Regions from separate parts of the Homo sapiens genome. Here regions 2, 3, 4, 5, 6 and 7 are each linked to region 1. Evidence: promoter capture Hi-C in 16 types of primary human blood cells and fetal thymus (Javierre and others, 2016). All regions are on one chromosome and are shown on one strand. Each heading gives the region's core, a stretch centred on a gene start or on the middle of the fragment in contact. The rest is flanking DNA. Distances are from core to core; before and after follow the strand shown. Region 1 holds the start of SNRPE (small nuclear ribonucleoprotein polypeptide E). Region 2 overlaps PLEKHA6 (pleckstrin homology domain containing A6). Region 3 overlaps ETNK2 (ethanolamine kinase 2). Region 4 has its middle 8.4 kb from the start of REN. Region 5 overlaps PLEKHA6 (pleckstrin homology domain containing A6). Region 6 holds the start of ETNK2 (ethanolamine kinase 2). Region 7 holds the start of KISS1 (KiSS-1 metastasis suppressor).

Region 1 (3,450 bases), core at 914-3,413:
CGAACTGCTATGAGATGAAATCGCCTGGATACTCACAATGATACAGCCTTCTATCCGCATATTCACTTGCTCATAGAGCCACACCTGAATCCGCGATCTCTGAAATAATCATAAAAGTGGAAACGTTAAAAAAAGAAAAATAGGGCCGGGCGCGGTGGCTCACGCCTGTAATCCCAGCACTTTCGGAGGCCGAGGGAGGTGGATCACAAGGTCAAGAGATAGAGACCATCCTCGTTAACATGGTGAAACCCCATCTCTACTAAAAATACAAAAAAAATTAGCTGGGCGTGGTGGCGCACGCCTGTAGTCCCAGCTACTCGGGACGCTGAAGCAGGAGAATCGCTTGAACCCGGGAGGCAGAGGTTGCAGTGAGCTGAGATCGCGCCACTGCACTCCAGCCTGGGCACAGTGAGACTCCGTCTCAAAAAAAAGAAAAGAAAAACAGGCCAGGTGCCTCGATTCACACCGTTCCCATACTTTGGGATGCCAAAGCGGAATAATTCGCTTTGTGGCCAGGTGTTCAATATAAGCCTGCGCAACATTAAGCAAGATCTCCCCGCCCCCCGCCCCCCAAAAAATTGAAGTATACAAAACCTAACCATTTTGGTCAAACGACAAGAGAAATATGGCTCCTAAAAAAATTGTAATGAATGTAAGTCAAAAGTTTTAACTAATTAGCCCATATCTAAGAATTATTCACCAATAATAATAACCTCAAAAAGAATTTTCATTTAATAAGTTCTATATTGGAACTGTATAAGCTAATAATTTTCCTGTGATTTTGGGACTCAATATTTCTTACTGCTTCTGGTCTCAATCTATTAAGAGTGAAAGTTTTTGACAGCATAGCACAAAGCAGTAATTTCTAATGACCAAGGGCTTATCTCCTGCAGCAAAATCCAGTTCCAAAACAAAGCCTTCTCATGTCACACACCTAACAACTAGGACAGGAGCCCTCAATTCAGGTGGTTAAGAATTATTATCACCTGAAATTAATGTTTTTCAGTTGTGTTATCACACTATAAAATTTAAGTTGCTAAAATTTCCCTCAAAGGAAAGCAGCTGCCACTAAACTCCTCTGAAGCTACCCCTTCTCTCTTCCTTTTTTCGTCTTTAAGTTTTCCCACAGGTATTAAACACACCACCTCTTGACATGGTTTAAGTTGGCTGGGTTTTTCTTCCAATGTTTCATCCTAAAGGGGAGAGGTTCCAATGTTCTAGCCATAATCACTACTAACAAAACTACTGATGCCCAAATACCATGGTCAAGTCTGCTAATAATACTTTTTGGAATTAAAAAGTATTTTTGATCTTGCAAAGTAATGGATACAATTCTTTGCATGTTGGGAAGTGGCATGGATACACACCACTTCATCACATTAGTGCTTTCTAAGTACTCCTTCCCCTCAATTACCCTCCAATCTCCAGTTACATCTATTTTTAAATTCTAGAACACAGCGATCGCTCAGGTTAACACAAAAAACTAAATCAGTTCACCTCTTATTTAAAAAGTAGTTACGAAACAAGCAACTTACGTACATTTTGTAAGTATCTGAAGATGAGGTTCTGCACCACAGTGGCTAAGGAAAAAATACAAAAGCAGCATAGACTCTGCTTCCTGAAACAACCGGACGACGCTATTCCCGTCTCACCTTTGTTTACTAAACGCGAGGTCTGGTGCTTACGCAAACAACAAGTGCCCAGCTGGGCATTCGTTACGGGTCTTCTAAAGACTAAAGAACATCCATTCCACTTTCATCCCCCTGGAGTTTCCCAAAACCGTTAACTCCCGTTTTCACTCCGCACCTGAAGTTCTCTTCCCTCCTTTTGCCGCGTCCATTCCTGCATTCCCCACGGCAGGGGTCCCCCCAAGACCACCTCCCCACCATCACGGTTCAACTACCCGCGCTTTCTTCCAGTCTTGGTAGCCCCGGGGGCTCATGGGATGTGGATCCGTACTCCACTATCCCAGGCCTGCCCTCAGCCTGCGCCTTCGCACCCCGTATTCTGACCCGAACCTCCTAGTCCTGACATCCTGCGTAGGATACGATGGGCTGCACCATAACCTTCTGCACTTTCTGACCCTGGCCACGGTACGCCATGGTGGAATTTCACAAAGAGCACACCCGCACGCTGCCTCTGAGAGCAACTTCCGGAATAAAGAACCGGAAGCGGAAGTGTGAAGGTCACGCGGCGGCATGGGCGGCTCCTGGGAAATGCCCCTCTAGCCATGAAGTCACGTTTCTTCGCTGCATGGCCTCCGAGGGAGGCCAAACTGAGGCGTCTGCGCTGTGGAAGGTGGGCCGGTCCTACAGCGCCACCTGGAGGGAGGCGGGAGGAGGTGCCTTCGGTTGTATAGTGGCCGTGGTAGGAGGAGTGCCGTCCTGTCTCCAATTTCTTTTCTTTTTTTTTTTTTGAGGCGAAGTCTCGCTCTGTCGCCCAGGCTGGAGTGCAGTGGCGCGATTTCAGCTCACTGCAACCTCAGCCTCCAGGGTTCAAGCGATTCTCCTGCCTCAGCCTCCCGAGTAGCTGGGACTACAGGCGCCTGCCACCACGTCCGACTAATTTTTTGTGTTTTTAGTAGAGACGGGGTTTCACCATGTTGGCCAGGATGGTCTCGATCTCCTGACCTCATGATCCGCCCGCCTCGGCCTCCCAAAGTGCTGGGATTACAGGCGTAAGCCACCGCGCCCGGCCTGTATCTCCATTTTCTGAGTTAGCTTGAAAAGCCAAAATCGTCCCAGTGTGTATCTCTATGTGTAAAATGAGTTAATTTCGTGCCTTTCCTAAAGCCTATTTTGCTGGAGTTTAGGCTTGATAGCAGCGTTGTGGTGGAAAGGGTAGGGCGGCAAGGAGCCCAAACTTCAGGCCTCCCACCTCTGGCAGTCGGCCAGAGGCGGTCTGCATTCCAAAGCCAGACGCCTGGTTCCCTCCAGTTACGGATTCAATTCTCATCCATTTCGTGGAGAGTTACTGTTCAGGTGGCAACTGAGGGTGGCGATTTACCAGGAAGACGCTGAAATCCACATGCTGGGCGCAAATCCAGCTCTTTTAGAGTTGGTGACCAAGGATAAATTACTCAGCCTCGCCATGTCTTGGCTTAGTTTCCAAAACGGAGATTATAGTAAAGATTAACTTTACTCAGGGGCTTAAAGATTCAATGAAATAATTGTCTATGTGTGCACACAGTTAGGCGTCAGCCAGTGTCAGAACATGTCCTTCCCTGGATAACACAGCTACTAAGTGGAGCAGCTGGAATTTGTAGGTGTGCCTGACCCCAAAGTCCACCTACCTTTCCATTGTGTCATGGCTTGTGGCCTGGCAGAGATTTCACTTAATTGGCATACACATGTTATAGAGGAGGAAACTGAAGTTTAGACTTTTGAAAGGACTTGCCTAAGGGAACACGGATTAGGGCAAATGGCAGAATCAAAATTAGCTTTTCTGAGG
Region 2 (3,457 bases), core at 549-3,048, 490 kb before region 1:
CTTATCAAATGTGACATTGTCCATATTAATAACAATGCAATATATAATATGTCCATGTAATAAACATATTTGTGTGTTCGAGTCTTTGGCTTTTCTTAAAAGGCAGTGTGTGCAGAGTCATTAAGATCACAGTTGGCCAGGAATAGTGGCTCATGCCTGTAATCCCAGCACTTTGGGAGGCCGAAGCGGGTGGATTACTTGAAGCCAGAAGTTTGAGACCAGCCTGGTCAACATGGTGAAACCCCATCTCTGTTAAAAATATAAAAATTAGCTAAGTGTGGTGCTGGCTTCCTGTAATCCCACGTACCTGGGAGGCTGAGGCAGGAGAATCCATTGAACCCAGGAGGCGGAGGTTGCAGTGAGCCGAGATCGTGCCACTGTACTCCAGCCTGGGTGACAGAACAAGACTCTGTCTCAAAACAAACAAACAAACAAACAAAACGTAGTTATGGGGTCAAACTCAGGTTGAATCTGGAATCTACCATTTACCAGTGATATGATGCTAACAGTGGCTTTACTTCTCTGTGCCTCAGTTTCTCCATTTGTAAAATGAAGATAATGCTACCTATCTCATAAGCTTCTTGTGAAGATAAATGAGGTTACATATGCAAGCACATAGAATCCTGCTGAGCAGAATAAGTGATAAATGTGTTTGTTATTATTACCTTGTTGATTTGCATGAGAAACATAGATATCTGAAGACAGGTATAATCGTCTCTCTCCCTCCAAGCCCTCCCAAGTCTCCTTGTTCAAGACTAAGTGCCCCTGTTCCTCCAAAGACCCTCAAGTTCTTTCTTGAGCTTTCCTGGAGCCCCCACATGAACTGTGGCCTTACTGGCACAGAATGTGGTGAGGTGGCCACACACATGCCCAGGGCAGCCACTTCCTCCAGGAGAATCCCCTGGAATGGCACACTTGCTGGGGGCTTCTTCTGGCAGGTGCATGGCTTATAGGATACTCCACTGGGGCTGGTACTCCTGCAGCCCCTGTCCGCGCCCCTGCACGGCCGTGTGCACATCCTGTCTTGATTTCTCCCTTGTCAAATCTTCCCAGCATTTCTCATTCCCATGAGACCTCTTTGCACTTTCTAAAGTAGCGCAAGCTTATCTGATAAACTAATTATGATCCGTATGTTAGCTCCTGCTGTGGTCATGGAGAGAAGGCTCATCTGGAATTTGAAGACATGGGTTCAAATCCTGACCCAAGTAGTAGCCATATGATTTGTGGAAGTTACTTAATCCTTCTGAGCTTTCACTTCCTAGCCTGAGAACTGGGGTTAGTATCACTACCACCTACCTAGCTGATACCTAGGTGAGTAATGTACATGGAAGTGCTTTGTAAACTGAGAATAATCACACAAATGTCAGTTACTGAACATCATATTTCGGAAGGCAAGGCTTTAACTCAAAGACCAGATGGGTGCTGAGGTGGATTGGTGGGAAATGTTTTTAGGGTAGCTGGTATTCAGGGATACTGTCAAGTCCTCCCAGGTCACCCACTTAGTCTCTGTAAAGGATTGGTCCTCACCGTGTGAATTCAGGAAATAGAGCTGGAGCTGCCAGTGCTGATCTGATAAACATGCATCAGTGCTGAGGCTTCATGGTAGCTGGTCCACCCTGGTTTCAGCTATGTCTTCCTCGGGTTAGTCGGAGCTCCACTTCTGCAGTGAGGTGGCCTAGGGCCCTCTTTAAGGAGGAGGTGAGGTCCCTCCTTAGCTCTGACATCATTGTGTCCCCCCAGTCTGGCTCATCATGATCTGAGAAGAACAGGCATCTATAATTGCAGGTGCCAATTTGCTTTTAATTAGACAAATTCTTGCAATTAGCCTCTTAAATTCTACCTAGCCTCAGGTGGTGCGGTCATTGTTCTGGTTTTGCTTGGTTCCTGGGACCACATGAGCAGCAGTGGGCTATCCAGGGACTGGATCCAGGCTATCCAGCAATCCTGCTAACCTCACTTGAAACTGGGGCTGTCTCACTGGGGAATTGAAGGGGATCGGAGCAGGGAAGAAAAACCTGCTTTGGTGGGGTGGTGCGGGTGGGAGTATGGTGATAGAGGCGTAGTGCTGAGACCTGTTTGAATGACAAGTGAGGTCTAGAACCCAGGTTTCCTCCTCCTAACCCAATGCTTTTCCCCTTCTGAGCCTCAGTATCCTCATCTCTAAAATGGGAATAATAGTTCCCACCCTGCCCTTATCACCAAGGATCAAATGAGTTAGGTGTAGGAAGTAGGTGTGAATATAAAGCAATGCGACCTGAAAGTCCATGATCACATCAAATGTGAAAGCTCTTTAAAGTTCTCCATATGCTCCCGGTGGCCCTGGCCACTGCTTCTTGGACTCTGACCTTCTCAGTCACTTCTCTGCTGTCCAGTAATTCCTGACTCCATTGTCTTCTAATCCTGCCAACTCTCCCCACAACTATGAGTGATTACAGGGCAGTACTTAGCACATAGTAGGTGCTCAACAAATGTTGGTTGGATATATGAAGCTTTGGATGGGAGGGTTAGGCCCCAAGGAGCAGGCACAGAGAAACACTCATGAGAAAGCCTTGGGTGAGGGCAGTGGTGGGGAATTTATTCCCTGTTCTCCTCAGCCTTGCCTCTCACTCCACTGTACTTCTTCAAGGCAAGAGATGGCCTGATTTGTCTTATTTGTATCTGTGATGTTTCACGCAGAGCCAGTCACAAAATGGTTGGTAACTGCTTTTTGATTGGCTGAGTGAATGAGACAGGGTGATGTGGTAGAGACAGCATGGAATTAAGTGGTGGGTAGAACTTGGGAGCCTGGCCCTACCATTTGCTTTGGGTACATACTTACTGCATGCTCCTTATGTACCAGGCAGGTACTAGGTTGCAAAAATGAATTTTTATTTTGATTTATTTATTTTTGAGATGGGGCCTCACTCTGTCCCCCAGGCTGGAATGCAGTGGCATGATCATAGCTCACTGTAGTCTCCACCTCCTAGGCTCATGCAGTCCTCCCACCTCAGCCTCCTGAGTAGCTGGGACCACAGGCATGCACCACCACACCTGGCTGATTATTTTATTTTTTGTAGAGACAGAGTCTCACTTTGTTGCCCAGGCTAGTCTTAAACTCCTGGGCTCAAGTGATCCTCCTGCCTCGGCCTCCCAAAGTATTGGGACTACAGGCGTGAGCCACTGTGACCGGTCAAAAAAAAATTTTTAAACTCACGCTCTTGTAAGGGAGCAGATGAGTGAGCAAACGACCATGCTGTATATGATACAGACATATGCTACATATGTTGGTGGCCAAAAAAGAAAAGGATAGACTCTCCTAGGAGGTTCCCCAAGGCAGAAACCTTAAGCCGGGTCTCAGCTTGGGAAAATTACTTAACCTCTCTGGGTCTCTGTTTCCTAAGCTATCCTGTTAGGAGACTGAAGTCTCCGCAGCGGCAAGGAGTAAATGAAATAAAATAATATGAAGAAAACATGTGGC
Region 3 (3,512 bases), core at 721-3,220, 270 kb before region 1:
TCCTCACCCACCTTCAGCTGAAAGGGAATCACTACCCTGGTTTCAAAGTGTTCACAACTATTAGAGAAATGCAAATGAAGAGCACGGTGAGGCCGGGCGCGGTGGCTCACGCCTGTAATCCCAGCACTTTGGGAGGCTGAGGCGGGTGGATCACGAGGTCAGAAGATCAAGACCATCCTGGCTAACACGGTGAAACCCCGTCTCTACTAAAAATACAAAAAATTAGCCGGGCGTGGTGGCGGGCGCCTGTAGTCCCAGCTACTCAGGAGGCTGAGGCAGGAGAATGGCGTGAACCCGGGAGGCGGAGCTTGCAGTGAGCCGAGATCCCGCCACTGCACTCCAGCCTGGGCGACAGAGCGAGACTCCGTCTCAAAAAAAAAAAAAAATAAAATAAAATAAAATGAAATGATAAAAAAATAAAATTTAATTAAAAAAAAAAGCAAAGCATGGTGAGATGTCGCTTCACACCCATTAGGATGGCTGCTGTTAAAAAACAGAAAATAATAATTGTTGGTAAGGATATGCAGGAATTGGAACCTTTCTGCACCATTGGTAGGAATGTAAAATGGTGAGCTACTATGGAAAACAGTAGGGTGGTTCCTCAAAAAATAAAAATGTAACTACCGTATGATCCAACAATCTCATTTCTCGGTGGGTAGCCAAAATAATTGAAAGCAAACTCTCAAAGAAATATTTATATACCTATGTTCATGGCAACATTATTCTTGGCATAGTAGCCAAGAGATGGAAGCAACCCAGCTGTCTGTCAACAGATGAATGAATGAATAAAATATAGTCTATACATGCAATAGAATATTGGCCTTAAAAACGAAGGAAATGTCACTTGCTACAACGTGGATGAATCTTGAGGACATTACGCTAAATAAGCCAGTCACAAAAAGACAAATATGGTTCTTTAAGAGATAACTAAAGTAGTCAAATCCATAGAAACCAAGTAGAATTGTTGCCAGGGGGTGGGGAGAGGGAGCAATGGGGAGTATTGCTTAATAGGTCTAGTTTCGGTTGTCCAAAAGGAAAAAGTTGTAGATATTCATTTGCACAGCAATGTGAATATACTTAACAATATAGAACGGTAAAAACAAAACTCCAAACAAGCATGTTTGTGGAAGGGTTTCTCTAGTCTGATCTAAGAAGAAAAAAAATGTAGTTGAAGTTAAAAAAAAAATAGGCTGGGCACGGTGGCTCATGCCTGTAATCCCAGTACTTTGGGAGGCCATGGCAGGCGGATTGCTTGAGCTCAGGAGTTCAAGATTAGCCTGGGCAACATGGTGAAACCCTGTCTCTACAAAAAATACAAATATTAGCCAGGTGTGGTGGCGTGCACCTATAATCCCAGCTATTCTGGAGGCTGAGTGGGAGGATCATCAGAGCCCGGGAGGCAGAGGTTGCAGTGAGCCAAGATCATGCCATTGCACTCCAGCCTGGGTGACAGATCCAGACCCTGTCTCAAAATAAATAAATATTAAAAATTTTAAAAAGAAGCAAAAGAAATAATAATACTAATCAGTCTGGGTTGGGGTTGATCTGCTCAGACTTAGATAGGCCTAGAGCCACTGAAAAACTTTTCTCATGATGTCAGCACCCCCAGCAGGGCCCACCTGGCTTTCTTCCTCACACCCAGCTTCCTTCTGTCTTCCCCACAGGTACGCAGTGATCCGATTCAACCAGTACTTCAAGGTGAAGCCTCAAGCGTCAGCCTTGGAGATGCCAAAGTGACCAGCCACCCCATCCCTCCCCTACCCATCTGTCTGGCCAGACCTGTTCTCCAGAGCTCAATTCTGCACTCTGGGATCCACACCCTTGGACAGGGTGGGAGAGGGGACACATGGGTGTCCAGGGAGAAGGCTCTGTCCCTGCCGCCAGACCCCAGTGGTTGCCACTGAAGACCTCATTCTCCTGTCTGGAGGGGCTGATAGGACCCCCTTCCGGGGGTCCCCTTCACCCCACCAGGCTTGGGAGGAAGTGCCTGCAGCCAGGTCCTGAACCATAACCACCCCTGGGAAACACATCATTCCCAGCCTCAGGCCCTGCTGGAATTGGGGCTGCCTTATATGTGTGTTTACCCCTTCCTGGCCTGGGGAAGGAGGCGGGGAGGGCTCCTTTCTACCTCCAGTGCCCTGAGCCTCCAGTCCGTCTCCCCCTGCATGCCCCATGTGGGAGGTGCTGAGCTCCAAACCAGCATCACACCAACTCTGACACATGGATGTACCTATCTTGGTGATGGGTGGGGGCCAAGAATTGAGCATGACATCTTCCCCAGCAGCCACCTCCTCTGAGATCCCTCACCTTCTCCAAACCAGATCCAATCAAACCTCAGCCCGAGGAAACATGCTCCCCAACGTGCTCTCCTGTGCTTCTGTTTTGTCCCCCTGCTGGGGGGACAGGAGAGGGAGTGGTGAGGCCCTGGGCCTCCAGAGCCTGGCTCTGCTTTGTGCTGTGGCTTAGCCGGAGGGGACGTGGCCAAGGGTGAGGTGGCCAAAACCAGAACCAGCAGTCTCCTGCCTTGTTCCCTCCCTGGCCCTCAGGCCCTCCTTCCAGGGATGTCTCTCCAGCTCTACTTTATGTCCTGAAGCTGACCCGAGGTCTTCCTATCTGGAATGACTAGAGGGAGCCAAGAGGATGGGGTGGGGGCCAGGGCCCCCCAGGGCCTATCGTGGGAGAGCCTGGGCAGGATCCCATCAGAAAGGTGCTGACTAAACTGGTTGCCCGGACACTCAACAGCCTCCACCTCCCTTTCTACCCTCACAGCTCCTGGGGCCTTCCTGGCTCTGGCCCAGAAAGTGATTCATTTGTAAATTATCATGGTTTTCTTTCTGCATTAAAATGCTCATTTCCGGACTGCTGTGTCTTGAGTGACAATGGTGAGGAACTGACCCCTGCGTGGGGGCTGAGGGGTGCTGTAACCCCTCCTGATATCCCCCCTCCACCTGGGCTTCATGCTGAAGTCAAGGTAGCCGCCTGCACACATCCTCCTGTGCACCTAGCTCCGAAGGCTCTGGGCAGGGCCCCCTATTTCTCTCACTCAGCTTCTGTGCCTTTGACTCTCTTAGTAGAACCTACCAGTTAAACCCGGTAAAGCACTGCTTAGGGGGAACTAGGCTGTGGATTACAAGGACTTTGGTTGACCCAGGAGATGAACCAGTGACATTCTAAATAGAAGTGCTCAGGACACCTTCCTCGGTCATGTCTGGCTCCCAGCTGTCAGTGGGGTGGGGAAGGGGCTGCTCTGCCTGAGAACAGGCAGGAGTGATTTCTGGAACCAATCCGTCACTTTTTCAGAAGGCCAGAAGGAAGAGCAGAAACTCAAAGATGAGAAGGGGGCACCCCTCTTGGCAGCCCAGTCACTCCGGCTATACTTCCCAGGCTGTGCACTGGGCAGCAGCTGCTCCAGGACTGCCCCCCTGCCAGTAAGTGCCCAGTGCCCTTAGGGGCAGCAGAGGCAACAGCAGCAGCAGCCTGCCAGGTGGACTCTGGTTGTTTGGCTTTTGCCT
Region 4 (3,910 bases), core at 942-3,441, 310 kb before region 1:
TCATCTTTGATCACCCTAGCCCTGGATGAAGCCAGCTATATACTTTCTCTCCATCTGTATCCAAGGAGCTGACACTGTGGTATTGGTAGGGGGAGACAGAGAACCAGGCCAACTGGCTTCCTTTAAAGTCATGATCTCCAGCCATTAAATGTCTTCATTCCTCACAGAAATCCTCTTGGTTTCCCTGGCCACCTTCTTCCCACTTTCCATAATGATTCCAGAGCTTCTCCATTTTTCTCATGCCTCCAAACCCCCTCCCATCCCCAACTCTCAGCAGAGGTCCTTGCTTCCTACTTGTCAGAGAAGATAACAGCCACCAGACAGGCAGTCCCTCAGCTTCCAATGCCAAGCAAATCAACCACTAACACCTGCACATGCCTTGCCTTCTTTCCTCCTGCTGCAGTGGAGGGTCTGCTCCATCCTGCTGTTTCCCACCCTGTATACTCCTTCCCTCCCAGGAATCCTACTGCGTTAATTAACTCTTCCTCTCAACTGAGTGCTTTCTATGCATTAAATATACTCAACTCCCTCCCATCATTAGAAAAGATTGGCAGTGCAGCGGGATAATTAAGGAATCAGAGAGACCGAGGGGTTGAGGAGGAATTATTTAATTATTTAGGTGCACCGACCCAGTCGGATTAACATCTAAAGGACTGAGCCCCGAACAAAGAGTCAAGCTACCTTTTAAGCATTTCGTCAGGGAGAGGAGGAGGAGAAGGAAGGAGGGAAGGAGGAGGAAGAAAGAGAAAAACCTCTCACCTGGTCCTCGTTCTCCTCCAGTTATCGTCACCCTCTTTCCCCTTTTTTACTCCTCCACTTTTCAAAATAGCTGCCTACACTATGTTGTCTTCATCTTCTTACTTTCTATCCTAGTCTGTTCAGGCTGCTATTAAAAAATACCATAAACTGGGTAGCTTATAAACCACAGAAACTTATCTCTCACAGTTCTGAAGTCTGAGAAGTTCAAGATCAATGCATTGGCAGATTTGGTGTCTGGCGAGGGCCTTTGTCCTGGTTCATGAGTGGCATCTTCTTGCTGTGGCTCACATGGTGGAAGGGGAAAAAAGAGCTCCCTTGGGCCCCCTTTATAAGGGCATTAATCCCATCAGGACTTAATCACCTCTCCAAAGGTTCATCCTCCTAATACTATTATATTGAGGGTTAGAATTTCAACCTATGAATTTTGGGGGACACAAACATTCACATCGTAGCACTTCCCATCATTCATCAACCCATCCCTGTGTGGACTCCCACCCCTCTGAATCACCAAAACAGCTCCCACTGACAGCACCAGTGGCCCGCATGTCTCCATTTTAACCCAAGTCTCACCTCACCCTGCAGCAGCACCTACTGTCCCTCACCATCTCTCCTTAAACAGTCTCTCCCTGCAACTTCAGAGACACCTGCTGCTCTCCTCCTTCCTCTGTGGCCACTCCTTTGGGGTCTCCTCTGCAGATTCCTCCTCTGCTGCTTGTCCTTAAAGCTTAGAGTCCAGGGCTTTCTTGCTGCTCACCTTCTCCCTGGCTAATTTCATTCATACCTGTCGCATTAATCACCAATTGCAAATAACACATAAATCTTTCACCCGGGTTTATTTATGCACCTGCCATTTGATATCACCCCTGGGATGTCTCAAAGGAGATCCATACTCAACAGTTCCTCAAACTTATGGTCTCTCCAACCCTCTTCCCCTTCTGAAATCCTCGTTCTCTTCCATCACTCTATGTACCCAGAGTGCCTCCAAAAACCAATCTCTTCCTCACTCTCTATATCCGATCTGTCACCAAGTCCTGCAGATTCTATTTCCTAAATTTCTCTCAAATCCATCCAATCTTTTTCATCTTCACCATGCCCAAGTACCCTAGACCAAGCTAGTTCTAGCACCATGACCTCCTAACTGGTATATGCCATGCTATTCTGGACCCATCCCCACTCCTTGCTAGTCCACACTGCAGCCGAAACACATGCAAAACACATCTAATTACAACATTCCCTTCTGTTTTTTTTTCTTTTTTGAGACAAAGTCTCGCTCTTGTTCCCCAGGCTGGAGTGCAATGGCGCAGTCTTGGCTCACTGCAACCTCCACCTCCCGGGTTCAAGGGATTCTCCTGCCTCAGCCTTCAGAGTAGCTGGGATTACAGGTGCCTGCCACCACGCCCAGCTAATTTTTGTATTTTTAGTAGAGACGGGGTTTCCCCATGTTGGCCAGGCTGGTCTTGAACTCCAGACGTCAGGTGATTCGCCCCCCTCGGCCTCCCAAAGTGCTGGGATTACAGGCGTGAGCCACTGCACCTGGCCCATCAGTCCCTTCTTCACCTGTCTGCAAAAACATCTAATTACATTCATTCACTTCTTAATGGGTCAACAGCTTCCCATGGCTCTTAGGGTAAACACAGAACTTCCTAACATGGGATGCAAGAACCTTTATGGTTTGACACTCAGCGCATCTATGTACTGGGTTCTGGGCCACACAGCCTAAACTTACTGTCTGACTCTGGCCCTTATTGCCAGTGGGACCTTGGGCAAGTTACCTTTTGAATCCTCTTGGGCCTCAATGTCCTCATCTGTAAAATAGTGATATAATGCTACAACCTCATATGGTTATTGTGAGAATTAAGTGCATTAAACACCTAGAGTGGTATCTTGCACATAGTAAGTATTCAGTAAGTGTTAGCTCTTTCAGCTCCTGCCTCTGGCCACATGTCTCACCCCGCTCTCTCTCATCTCTCTGTTCTTGATATGTTGGCTTTTTTTGTTTTTATTGACATCATCCTCTCTCCACAGGGCCTTCGCACGTTCTGTTCCTGCTGGGACTCTATTTCTTTGTCTTCAGCTATTCATTGCCAATGCAGCCTTCAGATCACAATGCGAGTATAATTTTGGGTGGGAGGGAAGCTTCCTGGAGTTCCCTGACTGGCACTAGTCATCAGCGCTATTTTATATTTATGCATGATGATAATAATCTATCTCTTCCACAAGACGGTGGGATCCATAAACAAGAGCAGAAACTGTGTTTATTTTTGTGAACTTTGTAACTCCAGCATCTAGCAGAGTGCCTCACATTATAATAAAGGCTCCATGAATATTTGCTAGTAAATGAAAGAGGACTGAAAGAGCAATTTAGGGGTGCTTCATAAATGTTCATTTATTCTGACAAGATACCCCTACCATGAAGGATCTAAAAGTATTCCCCTGTCCCCAAATAATTCCCCCACTCCCAACCACAGTTCCTGAAAAATCACCACTAGGGTCCATCGTTTGGAAAGGGCCTTATCATCTCTGAGGTCAAAACACATTAATTAGCCAAAACATTAGCCACAGAGATGAGCTCCTCTCATTGTCTGTACTGCCCACAGCTGGTGTGGAGCTGGTGTAGAGGGCAGTACCCTGGAGGCACAGAATATTAGAATATTAGGGTATCAGAGCATGAAGACACCCTTGGTGCCATCCAGCCATCTGCTTCACTGTACAGATTTGGAAACTGAGGTCCAAAGAGGAGAAAGGAGGGATCCAACATCACATAGCAAATTTATGGTAGAATGAAGACTAGGATCCAAGTCCCTGACCACCAACCCAGGGCTCTTTGCACTGCCCATTGCAGTTCACTAGTTCATCCACTTAATAAATATTAAGCACCACTGTGGGCAAAAATCATATTCATACATACATAAAGAACTCTGCTGCAAAAGCAGCTAAGTTGGTGCTGTCATAGAAGGGCTTGTAGCCATGCTGTGGAAGCCTACAGCAGAAAGCAGTCAATTCCAGGCTGAGTCAGGGCCTGCTTCATGGAGGAGGGGGTAATATTTGAAGTGGGCCCTAAAAAATAATCAGGGAAAAGCCAAGATAGGCATCTTAGCCTGAATAAATAGCACTCATCCTGGGATTTAGGGACCAGATGTCTGTCTGGGGA
Region 5 (3,486 bases), core at 769-3,268, 360 kb before region 1:
GGGCCATGGGCTGCTGCCAGAGGACCGTGGATACCTCAGTGTCCACACACCCACCATGCCCAGCCCTGGAGCCATCACTACTCACACCGTGGTCCTGGGCCAGGGCCTGAGATGACAGTGGGGAGCACCATCCTCATTAATGTCCAAGTCACAGGGAGCCTCAGCCTTGCCCTGGCTGGGGTTGTGGTGACTCCAGTGGAACATTCCCTGATGGGGGACATGCCGTGGTGGAGAACACACCTGTGGCTATCTTATGTGAGGACTAGAGGTGAAGAGGAGATGGACACTGCCTCTGGAGCCAGCCTGACACCAAGGACAGCACTTGTCATCATCCCTATCCTCGTCAGCCCCACCCTACTGCCTCAGCTGGACCCAGGGCTTTGACACAAACCCAGTGCTTTGCTTATGGGTGCTCGCTGGGGTCCGGTGGAGACTGACCACCCTGCTTGAGCCAAAGACAAGGTGATGAGAGATGGGGAGAGGCCATTGGCTCCCAGAGGGAACAGTGCTGGCTGTGGCTAGAGAACAGCAGGTCTGTGCAGTGTCTGAGGGCAGGTTGGGAAGGGTAGCAGAGAGAGAGAGACAGAAAGAGAGAGAGAGAGAGAGAGAGAGAGAGATCCTCAGAGTGGAAGGAGGGGGAAGCAGCAGGACACATTGGCAAGTCAAGCAGGAAGGAGGGAGATGGAAAGGGGATATCAGATTGGTTTCCCCCGGTGGAGCCTTAGGTTAGTGCCCAGTGCAGTGCCAGACTGTCTCCTCTGCTCCTCCCACCTCATCCCTAGGAGGACCCACCAGTGGAGCACATGCAGCCTCAGTGGAGATGCTTGGTGTGGGGATCTGGGTGAAGGGGGTTGAGTAGCGACTGCCTGGGAGATGGCTGTTAGTAGGTCTGTGCCTGGTGTCTGCCTCGCCATCCTGGGGTAAGGGGCAGAGAGAAGGACTTGTCTTATGTAGGGTGTGGTCAGCCTTGGGGCCTTACCTACCCAGTTCCATGATATTTCTTGCCCTGTTCCCCCTGGAATGTGCAGTGGGCCAGCTGAGAGTACGCCTTGAGGAGGGGGGATGAGGCCTTAATCTGGGAGGCCTATCCCCCTATCCCAGGCATCCCAGACGAGGACTGGCTGAGGCTAGGCGCTCTCATGATCCACCTGCCCCGGGAGGGCAGCGGGGAAGACAGAGAAAAGCAAACGCATTCCTCCTCAGCTCCACCCACCTGGAGACGAATGTAGCCAGAGAGGAGGAAGGAGGGAAACTGAAGACACCGTGGCCCCTCGGCCTTCTCTCTGCTAGAGTTGCCGCTCAGAGGCTTCAGCCTGACTTCCAGCGGTCCCAAGAACACCTACTAATTCCTCTGCACTCCTTCATGGCTGGGACAGTTACTGGTTCATATGCAAGTAAAGATGACAATTTACTCAACAAATATTTATCGAGCACCTTTTATGTACCAGGCACTGTTGTAGGTGCTTAGGATATTCTCATGTTTCTGAGGGATTACAGCCTGGGAGGATTCCACCGATCTTCACTTCTAGCAGGTTTTTTAAACGTGACCCTTGGCTGTATTTCCCATCTTCACAGTTCAAGCACCCCAAACCTGCCCTTTCTCCCCTGCAGACTGGCAGGTGGGATTGGCTCCCAGGTCATTTCCTCTCTCTCTCTTTCTCCCAAGCCTTTCTCCCTCCACAGGAAACAGATTTTTCAGGGCCTTCCATGCCTGCCACTTTGTCCGTCTCTTTTTTTTTTTTTAAAGTAATATTTTTTAGAAATACATGTAAAATACCAAGAAATAATGTCTGCGCCTCTGCCACCTCTCTCTCATCTCTTATTTCATAAAGCTGGCTCTTTATGTTGCTTTACATGCCTTAATATATGTTTTATGGAGATTATACATATTATAGATCTATATATGTAATATATTTGTTTGGATGTCTGATCTTTTCCTACAGTTCCTGCCCAGGCCTGTTTTTCTCTCCCTTATTTTCCACATCATTCCTAGCATATCAAGACCATACCCCTTGCCTTTTTGATCCAAAGAAGGGGAGAGGAAAGACTTATTTTAAGACATCTATTTTATGCTTTTGTTTAAAAAAAGCAAATCTATTTTCAAATTGTGCAATGTCTGAATGGAATTGGCAAATGAGGTGAGGAGATGGGGTAACTGCCTTTAGGTCCCAACCCTGTGCCTGTCCCTCTGCCACAGTGGCTTCCTTCCATCCTATTCCCCAGTCACGAAAGGGCTGGTCCCCAGAGCTCACCCAGAAAGCATCTTGCCGGGGGCAGGGCATTCCCTCGGAAGTCCTGGCCTAAGGATTTTATTACACTGTCTGCTCCTGATGACCCTCTGCGGTTGTCAGGCGTGAATCCTCTGGAAGGAACTGTTTGCAGTTGTATGCACAAAGGAGACCCATGCAGGCATGCACCCCAGATGGGCTGCTAGACTACCCCTCTTCATCAGCCTGCTGGAAAGAGCAGACAGCGTAACAGCAGCCTATGCCAAACAGCACTAAGGATGTCAGTGTACGAGACGGTGCGAAGCCCAGAGGAGGCGGCTTGGGATCCTCTGGGCCATCCCTGGCCCTGTAGCACAGACACATACAAGTTCCTTGGACTTGTCACACTCCTTTTCACTTGATCCCTCTCTGGCCTGGGTCACATTTATGACATCCCCCCTCTGCAACCTTTCTCTCTGGGGGCTGTACCAAAGGCATGGTACCTCAGTCTGGTATCCAGACTGTGAAATCAGCCTCTGGGCCAAGGAGGGTCCTACAGACAAGGTGGCATCTCAACCTCACCCAAGAAACCCCCGGGACTTTACCCCAGCAGGCTGCCACTGGGGCACCGAACTAAGCCAGCTCAGCCTTCCAAGCTGCTTAGCCTTTGTCAACCATCAAAGTGGGGAAAGGGTCTCTGGCCTTGCAAGGATTTGGGCAGGATGGAAGTCTTTGTCTAGGTCTGAAATCAAGGGCTTGGGAATCTAGAGCAGAGCTCCTGGCCAGCGTTTGAAGCCTGGCCTCCCACCTGGGGCATTTACTGACACCCTGTCGCCAGCCTAGAACATCCTGCTCTGAATGAACAGAGCCCAGATGGGGGTCCAGAGCTAAGTGACCCACCTGGGGAAGCTCTGATTATTCATCCAGGGCCTTCTCAATGAGCACATTACCTCCATGATCAATAACCAAGAGGCTGCAGTCAAATACTGCTACTGTCACTTTGAAGATTTTCTAAGGGCACAAGTGGCACACTTGCTCTCCGGCCTTTGGGAGAGGCATGTTCTTGGGCAGGGCTGGCTACGGCAAGAGGGAACCAATTCCTTTCCCCTTTAGGCACCCTCTACCTGGCAGCTCTTAAAACTAAGAAAAAATATGATATACACACACATTATATATATATATATATATACACACACACACACACACACACGTATATCTATTTATGCACATATTGGGGCCAATTTGATTTGCTAGTATTAGACAATAAACTGTACAAGGA
Region 6 (3,859 bases), core at 1,199-3,698, 290 kb before region 1:
GTCAGCCCTGTCTCTTGTCCCTGCAAAACTCCCCTCAGCTGTCCTTATCCACTGCAGATGCCCCCGCCCTGCCCCATGTAGCCATTTACACAGGCATTCTAAGGCACTACCACCTAAAATCATAGAACACCAGAGATCCAGGCAATACTTCCACTTTACAGGTGGGGAAACTGAGGCCCAGAGAATGGAAGGCCTTGCCCAAGATTACTCGGTCAAGAATCAAGTAGTGAAGAATACTGAAAGATAGTGAAGAATCAAGACTGGAACCCAGCCCGTCTGACTTGGGTCCTGGGGGTTTCCACCTTATCATAAGCAGTTGGTACCGTCATAAGTACAGTGCTTCACGCACGCTGGTACAGGGCCACGTGCACAAGCACACAGGTGCACACACACACTGCTATCCTCCATCCCATCCACCTGGGACTCGTCAGGCTGAAGTCTCTTCTCCCACTCTCACTCCTTGGGCTGTCTTCAGGGCACATGTAACTTGGGGAATGAGAAATTAGCATCCACCTGGAGCCACTGAAGCCATCCCTCTTCACCATAGTTGCTCACCTCTCTTTTGACAGAAAGTCGTGAGGCACTGAATGGCCCAACCAGGCCCTCAGTACCTCTGGGAGCCATCTGCAAGAGTCCCTGTGTAGCGCCAAGAGCCGGAGCCTGGGCTTCAGGACCCTGGACTCCCACTGATTCTCCATGTTCCCTTGTCCTGCATAGCTGTACTTCCTCACTGCAAAGGAAGTGTTGGTGGCCAGTGTCTTTTCCAGCTCCATCCTGGAGCTCCAGGACCTTAGGAAGGCAGGCACGACCCCCATTATCTCCTTCACTATCCAATATGGTAGGCACATGTGGCTATTTACACTAAAATTAAAATTAATTAAAATTGAATAAAATCAACCGGGCGCGGTGGCTCACGCCTGTAATCCCAGCACTTTGAGAGGCCGAGGAGGGTGGATCACCTGAGGTCAGGAGTTCAAGACCAGCCTGACCAACATGGAGGAACCCCCGTCTCTACTAAAAATACAAAATTAGCTGGGCGTGGTGGCACATGCCTGTAATCCCAGCTACTCAGGAGGCTGAAGCAGGAGAATCGCTTGAACCCAGGAGGCCGAGGTTGTGGTGAGCAGAGATCACACCATTGCACTCCAGCAGCCTGGGCAACATGAGCGAAATTCTGTCTCAAATAAAAAAATTTTTTTAATAAAATCAACGTGGCTAGTGGTCACTGCATTGGACAGTAGATATAGAACATTTCAATCACTGCAGAAGTTCTGCTAGGCAGAGCTGGATTCTGGACCGCAGTAAGCATAGGAGCCTTGCGGTTGAGAGGTTCCGGGATAGGCCAAAGGGGTAACTGGGAAAATAGGAAAGGGCCCCTTCTCTGAAGGCGCTTTTCTGGGTGGGGCAGTGAGAGATAGTGACTAGTGAGATCCCTGAGGCCTCACTACAACAAATAGGGCTGGCAGCCAACAGAGCCCTGCTCAGAAGGTGGCAGAGAATGACCAAAGGAGAATCTGGCTAGTAGAGGGACTTGCCCCCTGAGCCGGCCTGGCCTCTCTCCATGTCTCCTCCCCACAGCAACCTGCCCCGGGACACCTTGTCACCCCTTCCCCTTCCTTCCCACCCCCAGCCATCACCATGCCTTGCTTTGGCCCTTAGCTGCGCCAGGCATTTGGCTGTCCTCCCCAGGACGCGCGAGGGTCTGTCCACTTCACACCCCGAATGCCAAGCAAAGCACTGGGCTCGGGTACACCGCTGGCCTGCTACCTGGCTCCATTCACACGCTCAGGATGGGAGGGAGGCTTTAACTCAGTCTGGCCCCAAGTCCTGCCCAGGATGTGCCCAAACACTCCAACGCCCTGGCTGTTCAGTGGCCTGCCAGGGGACAGCGCAGTCTGCTGGACTGGCACACTCTCACCCCAACGCTATCACCCAATGTCCCCTCTTCATGCAGTGTGTTTCTGTCGGGGATGGGAGGTTGCCTGGGTGTGGGGGGGGGCTCTCTGCAGGGAAGGACCTTTGAGATGCAGCAGGGGCCGCCCCTGCAGAGCCATTTCCCGGGGTCCGGGGACTGGGGGCACGGAGCAGGGGCACAGAGGGGCGAGCCCAAGCTGACGTCGTGGGAGCAGCGGATCTCTCTATTCCAGGATGAGGTGGGGGCGCAGGACGAGCCCTCCCCCGCCTCCACCCCAGGCTACCGGGAGAGAGCTGGAGTCTCGCGGCCTCGGAGGCCGGGAAGCCAGCCCCGGCGGGGACCCGGGCGGGGCGGAGCCAGCGGAGGCCCCACCCCCGGCGTCACCGGCCCCCAGGGGGGCGTCGCCCCCACCCCGCGCTCCAGGTAGCGGCGGCCTCAGCTGCCGGCGGTGGCTGGCTGAGCTCCCCAGCGGCCCGCGGGCCGGGGCGGGGGCGGGCCGGGGGCGTTCCCGCGGGCCACCGCCCGTGATGTCACAATCGCGGCGGGCCGCGGCGCTCCGGGGTCGGCGGTGGGCGGCGGGCCGCGAGCCGGCGATCGAAGCGGGCAGCTCGCGCCTGAGTCATGGACTTCCCCTGGCCCCTCCTCTACCACTCCCACTCCCTCGCCGGACCCCCCCGCCGGGGCTAGCGTCTGCCGCGGCTCCGAGGGGGTGGGGCTGCTGGGAATGGCTGTGCCCCCTTCGGCCCCTCAGCCGCGCGCGTCCTTTCACCTGAGGAGGCACACGCCTTGCCCGCAGTGCTCATGGGGCATGGAGGAGAAGGCGGCGGCCAGCGCCAGCTGCCGGGAGCCGCCGGGCCCCCCGAGGGCCGCCGCCGTCGCGTACTTCGGCATTTCCGTGGACCCGGACGACATCCTTCCCGGGGCCCTGCGCCTCATCCAGGAGCTGCGGCCGCATTGGAAACCCGAGCAAGTTCGGACCAAGGTAGCGGAGTGGGCGCGGGGCCGAGGATGGGGTCCTGCCAGGGCTGCCAGGGGGATGCGGGGACCCAGTCCTCGCATCCTTCCGGGTGTCAGTCCCAGGGGTGCGCGGCTGCTGCGCAAGAAAGGTTTGGAACGTGGTTTGTGTACGGATTGATTTCGTCGCTACCAAAACTAGGCTCACACCTCCCTTGGCCCTGCACACGCCCCCCTCCTCCCGGGGCTCTTAGGCACGCCTGGTGGCCACCTGCCCACTGTCGGCATGCTGCGTGTGCGGGCCGCACCCCCTGTCGCTGCGTGCTGGTGCCCCTCGCTGACCAGAAGCGCGTACCCAGCCAGCTCTGAAACCTGAGGAGGCGGGAACTTTTAAGAGACCCCCCGCCCCCCCGACCCAGCCATACATGCATACATTGCTGCCCCTTCTCCACCCCATGGTGGGAGCAAATCCTCCAGGCTCTGAGCTGCCCCTGTGGGTCCCAGGAGCCACCCTGTGGAATTCCAGCTAGCACTCAGCTCCTCACCATCGCTGCAGGCTCGGGCTCAGCACCCCCACACAGGCCATCTTCCCCAGCCCCAGCTGGACACAGGTCCCAGGACACACCTGTGGGCAGAGCCACTCACTGAGCCTTAGGCTAACTCCCCAGCTGACTACCTCCAGCCCCGCTGTGGGCTGCCTGTGGAGGAAGGTGCCGAGTGGGGCGCTTGTAGCTTGTGCTGGAATGGTAGCGGCTCCATGCAGACAGGCATTCTGGGGTGGGGTGGGGGCAAAGTTGTGGGGAGGTTCTTAACCAAGTGTGGAGGCTGACAGAACCCGCCCTGGGGATGGAGTAGCGTTTTCAAAATAAAAGGCCCAGTTTGGTATAAGACTGTCAAGGCATCAAGCAGGCCTGAGGTTAATTCCAGCACTGATCTAACGTGCTATCTGCCAGTCCCTCCCCTCTCCTGCCTCAGTTTCCCTACGTAGAA
Region 7 (3,678 bases), core at 28-2,527, 330 kb before region 1:
TTTGGTCTATGAGGGTCAGTGCTGTCCTCATAGGCTATCATTTCTGTCCTGGTGTTTAACAGCCCTAATGGGTGTGATAATAATATGTTTGCAATCCCCTGTTAACAGTAAGCATCAGACAAGTGAGGGGTGCTAACCTGCAGACTGCCGGCATGCTTCTCCAGCATTAGGGGACGACCAGGTTGAGCTTGTGCTGGGAGAGCGTCCTGTCTGAGGGTAGAGACATAGCCCCTGCCTTCAGAGACTCCCAGCCTGATAGAAGAAACAGTCTCTGCCCTGGAGAGCCCCTTGTCCAAGGGTATAGAGAGTTATTGCAGGCTCAAGAAAGAGACAAAAGTCACTTGCGATGCATGCAGTTAGCAAATATCTATTGAGGGCCCTCTCTGTATGTGCCCAGCAATGGAGTGGGTGCCAAGGGTACAGGGGGAAGGGGGCCTGTCCCTGTCCTCAAAGTGCTGTACCTGAGCAGTCACAAAATAGTATGGTGGTGGGTGCCACGAGACAAGAAGGTGGGGCCCCCAAGCAGGCTGTCTGGATGTGCTGCCACCTGGAAGTCCCCTCTCTGCACCCCTGGCACTTCCCAGGTGCATCCACCTTCTGCAGCTCCCATTTCGTCCTCCTTGCTCATAGCTGGTTGCTTACCTAAGGTCTCTGACCAGTCCATAGCCTATTCACCTCAAAACCCTGCGCTGAGGAAGCGCTCAGTGACCGAGGAAAGAAGGGAAGCAGGAAGGAAGGAAAAAGGAGAGAATCTCTGCCACCACCACCCTGTGCCAGTCACAGGGCGCAGTCTAGGAGCCGCCTGGAGACCCACGCTGACCTGGCTTTCCCTCAGAGCTGGGAGCATGGGATGTGAGGAGCCCCTGGGTCAGCCTGTGCCCTTCTCCTCCCCTCTTCCTGTCGTTTTCTACGTCTAATTCAGACTAGGTGTGTCTGTGGCTCTTCGGAGAGGAAACAAGACATTTCACACTGACACTTCTCCCCACCCTCCTCAGATAGCCCATTTCCACGTTGTTTGGGGGCAGGATGGGTCCTCTGGGTGGGAAGAGGGTGTGGAGGATGGAAAGAGCCGGTAAGAAGGAGAAAGTCCCGCCTCGGAGGGCTCGGGTGGGGCAGGAGGAGAGGCTGCCTCCAGTCACAGAGCCCGGAGGCAGAGGCCTCCCAAGGTGCCATGCTCTTCAGGAGGGTCTGAGGAGGAGGGAGGGGCGGCAGAGTGGGCCTGTGCTTGGAGACGTCACCCCGGGCTTTATAAAAGGGATGTGATCAGGGAGCTGGGGAGAACTCTTGAGACCGGGAGCCCAGCTGCCCACCCTCTGGACATTCACCCAGCCAGGTGGTCTCGTCACCTCAGAGGCTCCGCCAGACTCCTGCCCAGGCCAGGACTGAGGCAAGGTAGGCACACTGCAGTGTCCACCCCTGGGAAGGGGGTCTGCCCTGACCTGGGGATGCTCTGGAGGGGAGCAGGGAATCCGTTCTAAGACGGACAGATGCATCCAGGCAGGCAAAGGCAGGGGAGGGAGACACTGATCTTTCCTGTTTACCAGCCTGGCCAGATTATCCTGGGATGCCTGGGCGAATACACTGAGTCGCACTTTATTTGTGAAGCTAACACTCTGGGGATCCCGAGGGCTCTCTCTTGCTGTGGAAGGAATACATGCAATAAATAAATGCTGTGGCTGGAATTAGAGACCACAGACACGCTTGGATGGACCTAGGGAACCGCTCGGGGCTCTTGAGAGCAATGGGGCTCCTCTGAGCAGCTCCCCCCAAATTACAGATGGCAAATACAAGCCTAACCAAGGGCATCTACCTACCCACTAAGAACTAGGGGCCACTTCACTCCAGAAGCTTTCCAACCATGCCTGGAATTTCTGTCACTCACTGGATACAAACCCCCCAGGGTGGAGGGAACCACAAAAATTGTCTACAGCAGGTCGGCCACTCATGGCCCCTTTCCAAATAATTCATTTCTACCATATATGTTAAGTGCCCCGATGGGCTGGGCAGTGGAATCTGTGTGTGTGTGTGTGTGTGTGTGTGTGTGTGTGTGTGATATGTGTGTATGGGTGTATGTGTGTATATGTGTGTGATGTGTGTGCGCATGTGTGGTGTATGTGGTGTATGTGTGTGTATGATGTACGTGTATGGGTGTATGTGTGTATATGTGTGTGGCGTGTGTGTGCATCTGTGGTGTGTAGTGTATGTGTACGGGTGTATGGGTATATATCTGTGTGGTGTGTGTGCATGTGTGGTATGTGTGGTGTATGTGTGTGTATGATGTGTATGTATGGATGTGTGTATGTGTGTGTGTATGTTGTGTGTATGGGTGTATGTGTGTATATGTGTGTGTGGTGTGTGTGCGTGTGTGGTGTGTGTGCATGATGTGTGTGTATAGGTGTATGTGTGTATATGTGTGTGGTGTGTATGCGTGTGTGGTGTGTGTGGCATATGTGTATGTGTGTGTATGGGTGTATGTGTGTGGTGTGTGTGGTGTATGTGTGTGTGTATGATGTGTGTGTATGGGTGTATGCGTGTATATGTGTATGGGTGTGTGCGTATATATGTGTGTGGTGTGTGTGTGCATGTGTGGTGTGTGTGGTGTATGTGTGTGGTGTGGGGGGTGTGTGTGTGTGTGCTGGGGTCAGGCAGAGTTGTCCCATGGCGCACATGGTAAGTGCCATCCACAGTGGGAAGGAGGCACTCGGGGGGAAAGGGGAGCCGGAAGAAAGAGTACCACCCTCCAACCACACAAGCCCACTGCCCTCCTTCCTGGCCCACCACCCTGCTTCCGCACAGAGAACCGGAAATGTACATCTACCCACATTCCTGTCTGGCTCAGACCCCTCCAGGATGAAGCCCCTGCAGGGCCCCTTCCCCCAGCCTTGTCACTAGCTTTCTCTCCATGCAAAGCTCCATCCTCTTGTCTAGCTAGAGGGCCTGAAGTTCCCTTTGCACTCAGCCCCTGCCCTTGCTTCAGCGCCTTAGCACCGTCCTGGGAACACTTTCTGTAAACCTTTCAGCGATTCATGCTCAGAAACAGCTCAAGTGCCACCCCCTGCCAAAAATCTGCCTGGTCCTCCTAGGTTGGGTTCCCCTGGACTCCCATATCCCCTTGTGGATTCACATGCATCCGGTATGTCATTTACAGTGTTATTTTGAAATGATCTGCTGATGAGTTAATTTCTCATGCTAGACTTGAGATCTTGGGGGCAGCAACTCTGTCTTAGCACACCTGTGCACCCCTAGCACCTAGCACAGCACCAGCACCTAGTCGGTGCTCAAGGAGTGATTTCCAAATCAACCCAGACCCTGTGCATCCACGGTCTGAAATGCTTTTACACTATTCTCTCCAATGGATTAATCCTACCTCTACTCCGTGCCCCAGCCCTGGGCCTTAAGGTAAATGCAGAAAGCTGTGGTCTGGGTTTCAACTTGTCACAGTATCAAAGTCTGCAAGGATAAGTAAACTTCTGAGCAGGTGGCTGGTGGCCAATCTGATCCAGGGTTCTTATTTTATAGATGGACCAATGAGGTCTGGAGATGGGGGTGACTTGCTCACATTTCACAGGGAATGAAAGCAGAGCTGGGGCAAGATTCAAGTACTCCTCATTCCATTTCAGGGTTCTTACTCTTTACTCCATGCCTGAGTCCTGCAGGGAGCTGGGTGAGGAATGGGGG

Evidence for each region. The method cuts DNA at HindIII sites, captures the fragments that hold promoters and counts their contacts. A CHiCAGO score of 5 or more calls a contact.
Region 2: a fragment that was not itself captured here is called in contact with the fragment with the promoter of SNRPE in region 1 in 2 of 17 cell types (endothelial precursors and erythroblasts); the score reaches 5.7 in endothelial precursors.
Region 3: a fragment that was not itself captured here is called in contact with the fragment with the promoter of SNRPE in region 1 in 16 of 17 cell types (neutrophils, M0 macrophages, M1 macrophages and 13 more); the score reaches 27.4 in neutrophils.
Region 4: a contact is called between a fragment that was not itself captured here and the fragment with the promoter of SNRPE in region 1, in 1 of 17 cell types (endothelial precursors). The highest score is 7.2, in endothelial precursors.
Region 5: a contact is called between a fragment that was not itself captured here and the fragment with the promoter of SNRPE in region 1, in 1 of 17 cell types (endothelial precursors). The highest score is 5.8, in endothelial precursors.
Region 6: a contact is called between the fragment with the promoter of ETNK2 here and the fragment with the promoter of SNRPE in region 1, in 8 of 17 cell types (endothelial precursors, M2 macrophages, M1 macrophages and 5 more). The highest score is 17.9, in endothelial precursors.
Region 7: the fragment with the promoter of KISS1 here is called in contact with the fragment with the promoter of SNRPE in region 1 in 5 of 17 cell types (M0 macrophages, endothelial precursors, M2 macrophages and 2 more); the score reaches 8.6 in M0 macrophages.

What each region holds. Positions count from the first base shown.
Region 1 is chr1:203,860,312-203,863,761 of GRCh38, reverse strand. It overlaps SNRPE (small nuclear ribonucleoprotein polypeptide E), which reads right to left and starts at 2,163. Exons shown (of 5, transcript NM_003094.4): 1 at 2,049-2,163; 2 at 1,540-1,566; 3 at 37-99. The coding sequence starts at 2,102. RefSeq lists enhancers at 1,058-1,633, 2,019-2,278, 2,087-2,381. The HindIII fragment of the contact is 9,598 bases long and covers 1-3,450 here.
Region 2 is chr1:204,352,417-204,355,873 of GRCh38, reverse strand. The region is part of intron 1 of PLEKHA6 (pleckstrin homology domain containing A6); the gene reads left to right. Among named protein-coding and RNA genes, the nearest start is that of PLEKHA6, 5.8 kb to the left of the region's middle. The HindIII fragment of the contact is 1,387 bases long and covers 1,105-2,491 here.
Region 3 is chr1:204,130,409-204,133,920 of GRCh38, reverse strand. It overlaps ETNK2 (ethanolamine kinase 2), which reads left to right. Exons shown (of 8, transcript NM_018208.4): 8 at 1,665-2,859. The coding sequence ends at 1,737. Among named protein-coding and RNA genes, the nearest start is that of ERLNC1, 9.2 kb to the left of the region's middle. RefSeq lists enhancers at 1,947-2,482, 2,483-3,019, 3,036-3,512. The HindIII fragment of the contact is 8,100 bases long and covers 1-3,512 here.
Region 4 is chr1:204,172,795-204,176,704 of GRCh38, reverse strand. No RefSeq gene overlaps it. Among named protein-coding and RNA genes, the nearest start is that of REN, 8.4 kb to the right of the region's middle. RefSeq lists a promoter at 1-3,910. The HindIII fragment of the contact is 1,412 bases long and covers 1,486-2,897 here.
Region 5 is chr1:204,219,152-204,222,637 of GRCh38, reverse strand. PLEKHA6 (pleckstrin homology domain containing A6) reads left to right here. Exons shown (of 23, transcript NM_014935.5): 23 at 1-3,486. Among named protein-coding and RNA genes, the nearest start is that of GOLT1A, 6.9 kb to the right of the region's middle. RefSeq lists enhancers at 1-35, 36-537. The HindIII fragment of the contact is 4,983 bases long and covers 1-3,486 here.
Region 6 is chr1:204,150,633-204,154,491 of GRCh38, reverse strand. ETNK2 (ethanolamine kinase 2) reads left to right here and starts at 2,448. Exons shown (of 8, transcript NM_018208.4): 1 at 2,448-2,897. The coding sequence starts at 2,640. RefSeq lists an enhancer at 2,670-3,369. The HindIII fragment of the contact is 8,626 bases long and covers 1-3,859 here.
Region 7 is chr1:204,194,090-204,197,767 of GRCh38, reverse strand. It overlaps KISS1 (KiSS-1 metastasis suppressor), which reads left to right and starts at 1,277. Exons shown (of 3, transcript NM_002256.4): 1 at 1,277-1,392. The HindIII fragment of the contact is 3,737 bases long and covers 1-1,850 here.